3 separate regions of the Homo sapiens genome follow, and all the other regions are linked to region 3. Evidence: promoter capture Hi-C in human tissues and cell types (Jung and others, 2019). All regions are on one chromosome and are shown on one strand. Each heading gives the region's core, a stretch centred on a gene start or on the middle of the fragment in contact. The rest is flanking DNA. Distances are from core to core; before and after follow the strand shown.

Evidence for each region. Contacts are between HindIII fragments. The study calls those that stand out against the background at their distance.
Region 1: a fragment that was not itself captured here is called in contact with the fragment with the promoter of KANK2 in region 3 in 2 of the 25 tissues and cell types used here (dorsolateral prefrontal cortex and lymphoblastoid cells).
Region 2: a fragment that was not itself captured here is called in contact with the fragment with the promoter of KANK2 in region 3 in 2 of the 25 tissues and cell types used here (H1 embryonic stem cells and lymphoblastoid cells).

The regions. Positions count from the first base shown.
Region 1 is chr19:10,889,511-10,894,032 of GRCh38, forward strand. The region is part of intron 1 of CARM1 (coactivator associated arginine methyltransferase 1); the gene reads left to right. Among named protein-coding and RNA genes, the nearest start is that of CARM1, 20 kb to the left of the region's middle. RefSeq lists an enhancer at 4,497-4,522. The HindIII fragment of the contact is 5,985 bases long and covers 1-4,522 here.
Region 2 is chr19:10,913,465-10,917,829 of GRCh38, forward strand. CARM1 (coactivator associated arginine methyltransferase 1) reads left to right here. Exons shown (of 16, transcript NM_199141.2): 6 at 413-590; 7 at 2,943-3,033; 8 at 3,232-3,313. Among named protein-coding and RNA genes, the nearest start is that of YIPF2, 13 kb to the right of the region's middle. The HindIII fragment of the contact is 8,993 bases long and covers 1-4,365 here.
Region 3 is chr19:11,195,942-11,200,190 of GRCh38, forward strand. It overlaps KANK2 (KN motif and ankyrin repeat domains 2), which reads right to left and starts at 1,604. Exons shown (of 13, transcript NM_001136191.3): 1 at 1,544-1,604. DOCK6 (dedicator of cytokinesis 6) reads right to left here. Exons shown (of 48, transcript NM_020812.4): 48 at 3,354-3,598. The coding sequence ends at 3,556. RefSeq lists a silencer at 1,468-2,087. The HindIII fragment of the contact is 26,033 bases long and covers 1-4,249 here.

The DNA of each region.
Region 1 (4,522 bases), core at 1,739-4,238, 310 kb before region 3:
TAGAGACGGGGTTTCTCCAAGTTGGCCAGGCTGGTCTCGAACTCCTGGCCTCAGGTGATCCGCCTGCCTCAGCCTCCCAAAGTGCTGGGATTACAGGCGTGAGCTACCATGCCTGGCCCAGAATTGTTTATTACCTTCTGTAATCCTACATTCTTGGGGACTCCTGAAGTAGATTCAACACTTTGACTTTGTGAGTTGCCAATGCATTTCCAAGCCCGGATCCAACCGTGGACCCTGGCCTTTTGGGCCAGCAGAAGAGGTGGCTGTTTTTTCTCATGAAATATTTTTGAAGGAATGAAGACGAATGCAGCCAACACCTGTGCACTTCCCACCCTCATTTTAAGGAAACCTTGCCCATGGAATGAAGCCCCCCATCCAATCCCCTCCCCAGGGAACAGCTTTATACTAACTCTGGTGGTCGGCTTTTGGAGGGGCCATAAATGGCCTGAAAAGCTAACCTGTAACCTGTAAAGCTTAAACTTTACAGGTGGGATGTAAATGTTGAGGCGGGAGGATCGCCTAAGGCTGGGAGTTTGAGACCAGCGTGGGCAACATAGCAAGACCCCATCTCTACAGAAAAATAAAAAATTAGCCTTCCATGGTGGTGCATGCAAGCCTGGGGTCCCAGGTACTCAGGTGGCTGAGGCAGGTGGATTGCTTGAGCCCAGGAGTTTGAGACCAGCCTGGGCAACATAGGGAGACCCTGTCTCTACAAAAAATATAAAAATTAGGTGGTTTTTTTGTTTTTTGTTTTGTTTGTTTTTTTTTTTTTTTGAGACAGAGTTTCGCTCTTGTTGTCCAGGCTGGAGTGCAGTGGCGCGATCTTGGCTCACTGCAACCTCCGCCTCCCGGGTTCAAGTGATTCTCCTGTCTTAGCCTCCCAAGTAGCTGGGATTACAGGCGCCCACCACTACACCTGGCTAATTTTTGTATTTTTAGTAGAGATGGGGTTTTACCATGTTGGCCAGACTGGTTTCAAACTCCTGACCTCGGGTGATCCACCTGCCTCGGCCTCCCAAAGTGCTGGGATTACAGGTGTGAGCCACCCCACCGCGCCTAGCCTAAAAATTAGTTTTGTGTGGTGGTACATACCTGTGGTCCCAGCTACTTTGTTTTATTTACATATATATATGTATATGTATATACGTATATATGTGTATACGTATATACATATATACACACATATATACACACACATATATACACATGAATATATAGACACATATATACACATGCATATACACACACACATATACACACACACATATATATATATATATATATATTTTTTTTTTTTTTTTTTTTTTTTTCTTGGTATAGCTCTATCCTTCCTGAAGTCCCAGCTCCTTAGGAGGCGGAGGTGGGAGGATTGCTTCTTGAGCACAGGAGGTCGAGGCTGCAGTGTGCTATGACTGGGCGGGCCATTGCACTCCAGCCTGGGTGACAGAGGGAGACCAAAACTGAGTCAGTGTTCCCAAGCAGTGTGTGAAGCTGATTCTCTGTCAGCCACGTGCCAGATGGGTTGGGTCCCAGGGGTGGCCACCTGGGGGACAGGGCCAGACACTTGTTCTGGGCCCAATATGGCCTTGTGTCCAGAACTCTCTCGGTGGCTCCTTCTCTCGACCCTTTGCCTTGAGCCGGAGCACTGTGGGGACACAGGAACCAAGACTGGTGTTTTGTGCCAATGCCACACTACTGTGTGCCCGTGGGTCTTGGGCCGGGCATGGGTGGGTTCGTCCTCATGGCTACACAGTGAACCATGTGTTATTTTATTTTTCTAGACACTAAAGCTGAGGTGTCGGGAGGTGATGGTCCCTTGCTTGCAGGTGGCAGAGCTCAGGTTCAAACCTGGATCTTACTGCACCTGGCTCGTTTGGGAGGCCTCCCTTGCTGGAATGCAGGTCAGGGAGCCCCGATGCCCTTGGGCTGACTGCCCCACGTCCATCACACCCACTGAGGGCCGTGGGGTGGGTGCAGGGCTTGTTCTGGGAGATTCCAAGCTGAGGAAAGCAGGGCTGTCCGCCAGCCTCCAGCTGGGTCACAGAAGAGGCTCAGGGCCTGTTCCCACTCCCCTCCCCCAGCCAGCAGGGTCCAAAAGGATGTTGGGGGGGTGGTCCCCAGTCCGGCCTGCCCACTCTAGGGAGGGGCCCAGATAACTTGCGTAGACGCCGGCCCTCCCGCCCCCAGCCTTCGCCATTGCCTTTTGTCTGGCTATCTTTCATGTACAAGGGAGAAATTCAAGCCACTCAGGAGGGTGTAACATGAAAAGTCAGTCTCTCCTTCTCTCCGCACTGCCCGTGACCTGTGGTTTCTCAGGCACATACAAGCGCGCACGCATAAATCTCTCCTCCAACCTGCTGGGCTTCAAGTTATGCACGTTCACACAATGGCAAAGGAGGGTGCGGATTGAAAAGTATGACTTGCTTCCCGGAGGCAGCACTGAAGTCACTTTATTGTGTTTCCAGACAAGCCCCATGAATGCAGTGTGCACTGCCCCTCCTCCCTCTGTCCCTTCCCCGCCCATCTGTACACCTGTGGTGCGTAGGTTTTACACCACTCTGTGCCTTACGTTGTGGCTCGATCATTTAACATGTCAGTGTGTACCGATGGAAATTGATCTCTTTTAATTTGCCACATCTTCATTTATTCATTCTTTGATTAATTGATGGATATTTAGGTTTTCTGCTTTGGGGGCATTCAGATCCAGGTGTATCTCTGCAAGTAGAGCTTGTAGCATACATAAGGCCCTGCAAAGGGATTTCTGGGCCGGAAGTTTTTGATCAGTTGCTCAGACATAGTTCTGATGTGCTGGGGAAGTGCCCGTTCAGGGCCATGGCTGCAGGGCTCCTGGACACCCAGCTCCGGTGCTGGAGTGGGGTTGGGATTCGCCCAGAGGCCAGGGCTGCGCCAGAGGAGCCCAGGGTGACCTCATGGTCCTCAGATACCCGGGGCTGGGCAGCACAGTGGAACAGCTGCTCCAGAGCTTCTCCGAGGACGACATCGGAGGATCCGACTCAGGTTACGGCAGGAGAGGGAGGCCAGGCCGGGTTAGGGTTCTGGGGTTTGGGATTCTCTTCCGAGGCTGGCATTGATCTGTTGCTGATGATGGTAACAGCAGCTGCTCTTGTTTATGAAGTACTTAACACCTCCAGCTCCCTCCATTACCTAGGAATCCTCACTGCAGGGAGGGGTTTTCATCCCCATTTTGTGCCTATTTTATTTATATTATTTTATTTTTTGAGGCAGGGTTTTGCTCTTGTTGCCCAGGCTGGAGTGCTATGGCACGATTTCTGCTCACTGCAACCTCTGCCTCCTGGGTTGAAGTGATTCTGCTGCCTCAGCCTCTTGAGTAGCTGGGATTACAGGTGCCCGCCACCATGTCTGGCTAATTTTTTGTATTTTTCGGTAAAGATGGGGTTTCACCATGTTGGCCAGGCTGGTCTCAAACTCCTGACCTCAGGTGATCCACCCGCCTCAGCCTCCCAAAGTGGTGGGATTACAGGCGTGAGCCAACACTCCCGGCCCTGCCCATTTTATTTATTTATTTTTATTTTTATTTTTTTCAGATGGAGCTTTGCTCTTTTTGCCCAGGTTGGAGTGGAATGCAACCTCTGCCTCCCAGGTTCAAGTGATTCTCCTGCCTTAGCCTCCCGAGTTGCTGGGATTACAGGCATGTACCACCATGCCTGGCTAATTTTATATTTTGAGTAGAGACGGGGTTTCACCATGTTGGCCAGGCTGGTCTCGAGCTCCTGACCTCACATGATCCACCTGCTTCGGCCTCCCATAGTGCTGGGATTACAGGCGTGAGCCACTGCCCCCACTGTGCCTATTTTATTTCATTTTGAGACAGAGTCTTACTCTCTCCCCCAGGTTGGAGTGCAGTGGTGCGATCTCGGCTCACTGCAACCTCCACCTCCTGGCTTCAAGTGATTCTCCTGCCTCAGCCTCCTGAGTAGCTGGGACTACAGGCACCCGCTACCACGCCCGGCTAATTTTTTTTATTTTTAGTAGAGATAGGTTTTCACCGTGTTAGCCAGGATGGTCTCGATCTCCTGACCTTGTGACCCGCCTGCCTTGGCCTCCCAAAGGGCTGAGATTACAGGCGTGAGCCACCGCCCCCTGTCATTGTGCCCATTTTATAGATGGGGCTCCTGAGGCCAGGGGTGAAGGCAGGTGCTAGTTCGGGGGATCCAAGCCCTGCCAGACTCTGCTGCATGTGGGCTCTGACCTAGTGAAGTTCCAGGATGGTGCCCTGGGGCCGGGCTGTCAGGCCCTCCACGTGGGTTATGTCACCTCACCCTTTGGGATGTGTCAGGGTGGTGGTTGAACAGATGAGGAAGCCAAGGCCAGGGCTGGAGAACAGTGGGTTCGGCCCTGAACCCAGTCCCTCCTTGATAAACCTAAGTCCTCCTTGATGCCAAAGCCCATCCTTTCAGCCATCTCCCTGCTGGGTGACCCTAGGGTCATCTCTGCCGCCTCTTGGGCACATGGGTGCCAAGCCACACAGGAATGGGGGGAA
Region 2 (4,365 bases), core at 1,021-3,520, 280 kb before region 3:
GAGGCAGAGGTTGCAGTGAGCCGAGATGGCGCCACTACCACCTCCAGCCTGGGCAACAGAGTGAGAATCTGTCTCAAAGAAAAAAAAAATAGTTTTTTTTTTTTGGTATTTTTAGTAGAGACAGGGTTTCTCCATGTTGGTCAGGCTAGTCTCCCAACTTATGAGGTCAAGCAGTCCGCCTGCCTCGGCCTCCCAAAGTGCTGGGATTACAGGCATGAGGCACCGTGCCCGGCCCACAGTGAGCTCTTAACAGGCTATGGCCAATCGCAGCCATGGTTGGGGCGCCAGCGAAGCAGGCAGAGGGGCACCCAATGCCCATGTGTGGATGGAGGCTGTCCCTTGAGAGCAGGTCTAGGGAGGGCCCCATGGCAGGAAGACGCAGGGAAGCCCACATGGCCCTGCCCGCCTGCAGGTCTTGGTGAAGAGTAACAACCTGACGGACCGCATCGTGGTCATCCCGGGCAAGGTGGAGGAGGTGTCACTCCCCGAGCAGGTGGACATCATCATCTCGGAGCCCATGGGCTACATGCTCTTCAACGAGCGCATGCTGGAGAGCTACCTCCACGCCAAGAAGTACCTGAAGCCCAGCGGTGAGCACTGGGGGGTACACAGGCCAGGCCCCTCGGTGGAGGCCCTGGCTGCCGCTGAGCCAGGCCATCAGTGCTTCAGCTCCCTGCTTACTGTCGGTGGCCCGGGGTGTAGGGAAGCCTGGGCTTTTCCCCCGCTCCCACCCCAACCCCACTCCAGCCAGCTGTGGCTTTTGGAGCCCTGGGCCCCAAACACGGCCAGACACCCAGCTGCCCACTCGCCCAGACAGGGTACACAGGATCTCCTGGCACCTCTGCCGTCCCATGTCCTGCTCCTGCGGGACAGCCTCTGGCTGGGAGTGGGGATTGGGACAGGTTCTGTGGTCAGCAGTTCCCCAACAAGCCCTGCTCTCCTCACAGTCCAGGAGGTGGGGTGGGCGAGCATGTGTGCAAATGCAGGGGTGTGGGTGCGAGTGTACGTGTGTGAGGAGGTGAGGTAGCTGTCTGGCAAGCCCATCTGTCACTTCCCATCCGTGCCTCTGGGTATGGCCTCTGGTCACTGGGTGACTGTTTCTTTTTTTGAGACAGAGTTTCACTCTTGTTGCCAAGGCTGGAGTGCAGTGGTGCGATCTCGGCTCACTGCAACCTGCACCTCCCCAGTTCAAGCAATTTTTGTGCTTCAGCCTCCTGAGTAGCTGGGATTACAGGTGTGCACCACCACGCCCAGCTAAGTTTTGTATTTTTAGTAGAGATGGGGTTTCACCGTGTTGGTCAGGCTGGTCACGAACTCCTGACCTCAGGTGATCTACCCGCCTCAGCCTCCCAAAGTGTTGGGATTATAGGCATGAGCCACTGTGCCTGGCCTGGGTGACTGTTTCTATTTGCCCATCTGTCTTGGGGTCTGTGCAGCCCTGACGCCTGAGGCATGTGCCTGTGGCTCTTCTCATGCTAGGTATGTGAGCGTCTGAGCATTTCTGTACAGGCAAGCAGCTGTGTGTGCGTGTGGCAGGGTACAGGTCCCCAGCCAGGGTAGCAGCCATGGGATGGAGCGTGGGCAGCAGCAGGCTGGTGGGGCTTGTGCAGGCAGGGGCAGGGGGGAAGCTTCCACTCTCATCTCTGGCCCGCCCTGGATCCAGGCCCTAGGGTCCTGGCTGGCTGTGCTCCTGGAGGTGGGAGGTGGCGTCCCACAGCTGTGTCTCATGTCTTGGGTGTGAGTATGGGAAGCAAGGCTGCTCCAGGGGCTGTGGGCCCCACTCTCCTCCCCTTCTGCCCTGATGGTGGGGATGGGGGTGGGGACAGCCCCAGCAGAGAGGGCCCCTCCCGATGGGACATGAAGCCAGATGGCAGTCAGGCTCTGTGGGCAGCTGCATGTGCCCCCGACGTCCCAGCAGCCAGCTTGCAGGGAGGGGGGAGGCCAGGCCTGTGCAAGGAGGACTCCTGTCCAGCTCAGGAAGCTCTTCCAGGGGTTAAAGGCAGCCCTCCCCTCTCCCAGTCACATGTCTTCTGGTCAGCAGGAGCCAGAGGTTCCTTCCAGGCTGGGTCACTTCCCATGGTGCCCCCAGGTCCCCCAGGGCAGAAGCCGCAGCATGTGCATCTCCCTCCCCGTTCCAGCAGCTGCAGCCCTGCAGCTCTCGCCTCGGGTACAGCCTGGTGGCGTAAGGAGGAGGCAGAGTCCCACTGATACCTCAGGATCTCCTCCCCCAGCTTGCAAGGCTGGGGGGCCCACATCTGGAGGCCAGGTGCTCCTTGGGGCAGGCGGGGCTGCGGGGCCCTGATCCTCCCTGCCACTGGCCCTGACTCATGCGTCTACCCTTGAGTCACAGAGGGAGGCCCTGCCCTTCCCTCAGTCTGTGTGCCCAGACCAGGCAGGCCAAGTGGCCCATCCTGCCGGCTGGGTGCCTGTGCCAGAACCTAGGCAGTCCCTGTGGTGTGGATTTGGCTTCCCCCACCTGGCTCTTGGCCTCAACTGAGGTCCCCAGCGGCGTTGGGGTAGCCCGGGGCCCACCACCCTCCCTCTGTCCAGAGCAACTTTGCTATGCTTTCCCGGCTGCACACATGCACAGACGGCAGGGCCTGAGAGGCAGCGCCTGGCCACATCCCGGGCACTGCCTGCTTCCCCGTGAGTCTTTGGCAGGTCCCTCACACCTGCCAGGTCTAGTAATAGGACATAAAGATGAGCCACCAGCCTCCCAGTCTCAGGTGGAATTCGTGAGCTGGTGCAGGTCAGGTACCCGTGGTGGTGATGAAACACTGATCAGAATAGGCGCTCGGTGCCACTGTCACAGGAGTGCAGGAACGAATGGATGACAGGCTGGGAGCACCCAGGGTTGGGGGTCTTGGGGTCCTTTGGAAGCTCTGCCAGGCAGTGTGGGATGTGTCACCTGACGCCAGCACCCCTCCCTGCCCCACTCCCAGGAAACATGTTTCCTACCATTGGTGACGTCCACCTTGCACCCTTCACGGATGAACAGCTCTACATGGAGCAGTTCACCAAGGCCAACTTCTGGTGAGTGTGCCCTGGGTGTCCCGCCTGGGCCCCACAGCCTGCCTTCTCAGGGACAGCCCCAGCTCCCCAGAGAGCCTGCACTCCTCTTTTTCTGAAAGACTTGGGCTAGATGAGGGCTGACTGGGAGAGAAGGCAGGGCTACCCCACCTGCCTCTTCTGCAGCCCTGACCTTGCTGTGGGGGTGGGGCCTGTCCACAGGTACCAGCCATCTTTCCATGGAGTGGACCTGTCGGCCCTCCGAGGTGCCGCGGTGGATGAGTATTTCCGGCAGCCTGTGGTGGTGAGTAGGGCCTCCAGGGTACTGCTGCAGTGATCACTTGCCATTGCTGTGCAGCTGTGCAGCCCTCAGGAAGCTACAGCCCCTCTCTGAGCCCTCTCCTCTGCCCTGCACAGCGCTCTCACAGAGATTTGGGCCAAAAGTGTCAATGCATGTAGACACTTAGCACACAGCACACATGCAATACATGTGGAACATTATTAGGTGAGGCTAAGGCAGAGGGGGCATTTAGGCTCAGGAGTTCAAGATCAGCCTGGGCAACACAGAGACGCCATCGCTATTTTTAAAATTAAAATAAATAAATAATAAAAATAAAAAAGAACCATTACTAGATGAATTTATCCTTGGTGAGCTGATGTGATTTATTGATTGATTTTACTTGAGATTTTTGATACATAGATCCATGATTTAAAAATCAAAAGGAAAAAAAAGCTAGGTGCAGTGGGTCACACCTGTAATCCCAGCACTTTGGGAGGCCAAGGCGGGCAGATCACGAGGTTAGGAGATTGAGACCAACACGGTGAAACCCCATCTCTACTAAAAATACAAAAAATTAGCCAGACGTGGTGGCGGGCGCCTGTAGTCCCAGCTACTCAGGAGGCTGAGGCAGGAGAATGGCGTGAACCCGGGAGGCAGAGCTTGCAGTGAGCCGAGATCGCACCACTGCACTCCAGCCTGGGCGACAGAGTGAGACTCCGTCTCAAAAAAAAAGAAAAAAAGGTTCCATTTTATTCTGTTTTCCCCCTGCTCTTGATGTTTTTCATTCGTTTTGGGAGACTCTTGGACTATCTTGGATACTATCTCTTTAAACACTACGTCTGCCCCATTCTTTCTCCTTCTGGGATTCCAATTACGTGTACAGTGAACCTTTTCACCATATCTCAGATGATTGTTATACTCTTTTCTGTCTTTTCCATCCATTTTTTTCTCTCATTTTCTTTTTCTTTTTTTTTTTTTTTTTGAGACGGAGTCTTGCTCTGTTGCCCAGGCTGGAGTGCTGTGGCATGATGTCAGCTCACTGCAACCTCCACTTTCCGGGCTCAAGCGATTCTCAG
Region 3 (4,249 bases), core at 354-2,853:
GGGAGCAAGCGGGATTGGAGCAGGATTGGAATAGCCGAGCGGGGTGGGCTGGGGGTGGGGGAAGTGAGGGTGCTGCTGGGTAAATAGTATAGTAACAGTAATACTAACATCAACTCTTTTTTTTTTTTTTTTCTGAGACGGAGTTTTGCTCTTGTCGCCCAGGCTGGAGTGCAATGGCGCGATCTCAGCTCACGGCAACCTCTGCCTCCCAGGTTCAAGCGATTCTCCTGCCTCAGCCTCCTGAGTAGCTGGGATTACAGGCACCTGCCACCACGCCTAGCTAATTCTGTATTTTTAGTAGAGATGGTGTTTCTCCATGTTGGTCAGGCTGGTCTCGAACTCCTGACCTCAGGTGATCCGCCCGCCTTGGCCTCCCAAAGTGCTGGGATTACAGGCATGAGCCACTGCACCCAGCCTAACATCAACTCTTTTAATTGTCATGACAATTCTATGAGATGGGCACTTATCGCCCCGTTTCACAGACAGGGGATGCAGAGGGTACAGAAAGGTACAGTGGCTTCCTCGGGGTCACTGGGGCCATGGGGAAGTGGCTGGGCCTGAACATGAACCTAAGCCTGGTGGATCCCCCCACTGCCCACCAAGCCACCACCCTCAGACTCCACATCAGATATCTCTACCCGTTTCCCAGATACGGAGACTGAGGTCTGAGGGTACTCAGTCATCTCACCGCCCTCGATGAGGACCAGCACGTCCCGAGTAAGGGGAAGAGAAAGGAGACGAGGGGGTGTGGTGGGGGAGATGGATGTCTGTGGCTGAGACCCTTCTCTCGCCATGGGACCCCTGGGGAATGGGGAAGGGGTGACAGGATAAGACAGAGATGGAGAGACTGGAGCCTATAAGAGGGGACAGGTAGGGAGCGCAGGGAAGGGGCGCGGGTCTCCCCAACCCACCACCCAAGACCGGCCTGCACATCGCGGAGGTCGGTGGTGGTGGTGGGGGGGGGTCTTCCCGCCCCAAACTCGGGGTGGGGGGAGGCGAGAAGGACCCCGCCCCGTGCAGAGAGGGGGCGGGGCCTGTGGGATCCCGGGCTAATGGCAAACAGCTGCCGCTCCCCACGCCGGCCCAGCCGCCAAGCCCAGGCCCAGCCCGGCCGGACGCCCGGCCGCCTTCCCGCCGTCTGGGGCATGGCCGCGGAGGAGGGCGAGGGGGGACAGTGCGGGGAGAGGGCAGAGCCGGGGAGGAACAGAGGCAGAAAGTGGGACAGAGACAGGGGAGAGCGGGCAGAGGGGAGCCAAGACAGGAGAAACGGGCAGGGCACGAGGAATCGATGGGGGGTACTGGGAGGAATCGATGGGGGTATGGGGTCAAAGACGAGGAGGGGGCAGGGACGCGGGGACAGACACTCCAAGTCTGGAAAGTTTGGGCACAGAAGGTGGAGTTGGAGGCAGCGGCTCGTTGAGACCAGCGAGGTCGTGTCCCAGGGTTGGAGGCGGGGGGTAGGGTAGTAGGTGTGTGTGGAGGGGGTGCACACTCGATCCCCGAACCAGACTTGAACCCCTACCCAGCCCCGGGTCCCACTCGCCTTGCGCGCTCCGGCCGCTGCCTTCCCTGGGTCCCGCCGCCCGAGCGTCTTCGCGCGCGCCGCAGCCTGGGCGCCCGGCCCTCGGAGGTGGCTCCGCCCGCACCACGCCCCCTCCGGCTGGTCCCGCCCCCCCAGCCGGCACCGCCCCCTCCAGCCGCCCGGGCGCCCCGGCCGCGGTGGGGGGTGGGGATGGAGAGACGCTGGTTGGAGACTGGATCTCACCTGGACAGCAGGTGTGTGTGCGCGCCGGGGTGTCCGGCCTCGTCCTTCCTTCCTCCCTAAGTCCCCGAGGCAGGGTCCTCCCACTGCCGGCCTCCCCCCCACCGCCTGCTGTCCCTGGGCCGCTGCGGGGGGCGGAACGGCTCGGCGGCGGGAGGGGGTGGAGCTGGCCGGGGCCCAGCTCGGGGAGGGCGCGCGGGGCGGGCGCGGCAGCGGGAGGTCACCCCTCCCCCAGGCGGCCCAGGGCTGGAAGCGGCCCAGCGCAGTCCTGGCACACGGTGGCGTGACCGCCGCGCGAGAAGGGAGGCTGCAGAGTCCTGGGCGCCGGCGCCAGCCAGACCTGCATTCCCATCCCAGACCCACCAAACTTTTGCTGCTCTGTGCCTCAGTTTATTCATCTGTAAAATGGAGATGATCATGTTAGCTACCTGATAGGAGCGTTGAGAAGATTCACTGACCATTAGGAAGGGGCCTAACCATCAGGAAGGAGGCCCTTCGGGTTAAAAACTCTCATAAATGGAGTGGCCTACTTTTGCAGAGATCTTTCTGGGAGCCCTTTTAGTACACAGCCAGCCACTCAGCAAGGGCTTAATAAATATTATTAAGCCGGCGAGGTGGCTCACACCTGTAATCTCAGTGCTTAGGGAGGCCAAGGCAAGAGGACTGCTTGAACTCAGGAGTTCGAGACCAGCCTGGGCAACATAGCAAGACCCTGTCTATGCAAAAAAATTTTTAAGTGAAAAAAAATTAGGCCAGGCGCAGTGGCTCATGCCTGTAATCGTAGCACTTTGGGAGGCCAAGGTGGGCGGATTATTTGAGCCAAGGAGTTGGAGACCAGCTTTGGCAATATGGTAAGACGCCATCTCTACAAAAAACAAAATACAAAAAACCACCTGGGGCCGAGAAATGGCTCATGCCTGTAATCCCAGCACTTTGGGAGTCCGAGGTGGGTGGATCATCTGAGGTCAGGAGTTCAAGACCAGCCTGGCCAACATGGTGAAACCCCTTCTCTACTAAAAATACAAAAACTATCCTGGCATGGTGGTGCACATCTGTAATCCCAGCTACTCGGGAGGCTGAGGTATGAGAATAACTTGAATCTGGGAGGTGGAGGTTGCCGTGAGCCGAGATTGCACCACTGCACTGCAGCCTGGGTGACAGAGTGAAACTCTGTCTAAAAAAAAAAAAAAGAAAAAGAAAAAAAAGCCAGGCACAGTGGCATGTGCCTATAATCTCTGCTACTCAGGAGGCTTGAGCCCCGGAGTTTGAGGCTGCAGTGAGCTATGACTGTGACACTGCATTCCAGCCTGGGGGACTGAGTGAGAGCGTCTGTTAAAAACAAACAAACAAAAACCAGGTATTGTTATTGCAGGTAAGCATGTGACATTATTTGTGTGTTGCCTTCCCTACTAGAACATCAGCTCCACAAGGGCAGGAATTTTTGCCTGTTGTCACCACGATGTCCCTGGCACCCAGTATGTTCTTGGTGTCCCCATTGATGATGCAGGGATGTGTGGATATGGGGCAGTGGACTGTGAGCATGTGATGAGCATGTGACCCAGCCCCTAGTGACCGCACCACATGGCACAGGTTGCTTATAAAAACCATTTTAAATTAAAAAAGGGAGGAAGCATCAGTGCACACAGATGGGGACACAGGGGCAGAGGGCCCAGCCCCAAGTACAGTGTGGTCACCCCACAGCCCAGTGGGCACCAGGGCAGACTCCCCTCGCAGCACAGACAGCTGAGGCCCGGGTGCTGGTTCCTCTAGGTACAGCTTTGGTCCTTGTGGGCTCAGAGGTCTGCCTTTCGGAAACTTGCTCTGTTCAAGGAGTTCCTGGAAAAAGAATGAGGGTGGGTCAGCATGGCCATGGGGCCCCCAACTCCATAGACCTCCCAGCCCACATCCTCTTCCTCCTCCTCCTCGTCTTCCTCCAAGGATCCTTCTGGGATCTCTCCTGTCCCTGATCTGGCTGTGGGATTCTCCGATTCTCTCTTGCAGTCCACCACGGAAGGTATGAATCATCCCCATTTTACAGATGTAGAAACTGAGGCTCAGAAAGATGAATTCATGTATCTGGGAAATGACTGCTCAGAGCCTGCCCTGCCTTTGTACATCTGGATGACATATTCAGATGCTTATGCAAAATTGAAGCCACCGCAGCCAGGCGTGGTGGTGGCTCATGCTGTAATTCCAGCACTTTAGGAGGGCAAAGCGGATGGATCACCTGAGATCAGGAGTTCGAGACCAGTCTGGCCAACATGGTGAAACCCTGTCTCTACTAAAAATACAAAACATTAGCCAGGCGTGGTGGCAGATGCCTGTAATCCCAGTTACTCAGGAGGCTGAGGCAGGAGACTCGCTTGAATCTGGGAGGCGGAGGTTGCAGTGAGCCAAGACTGTGCCAACTGCACTCCAGCCTGGGCAACAGAGGGAGAGTCTCTCAAAAAAAAAAACAAAAAAAAAACCGGAAACAAAACAAAGTCC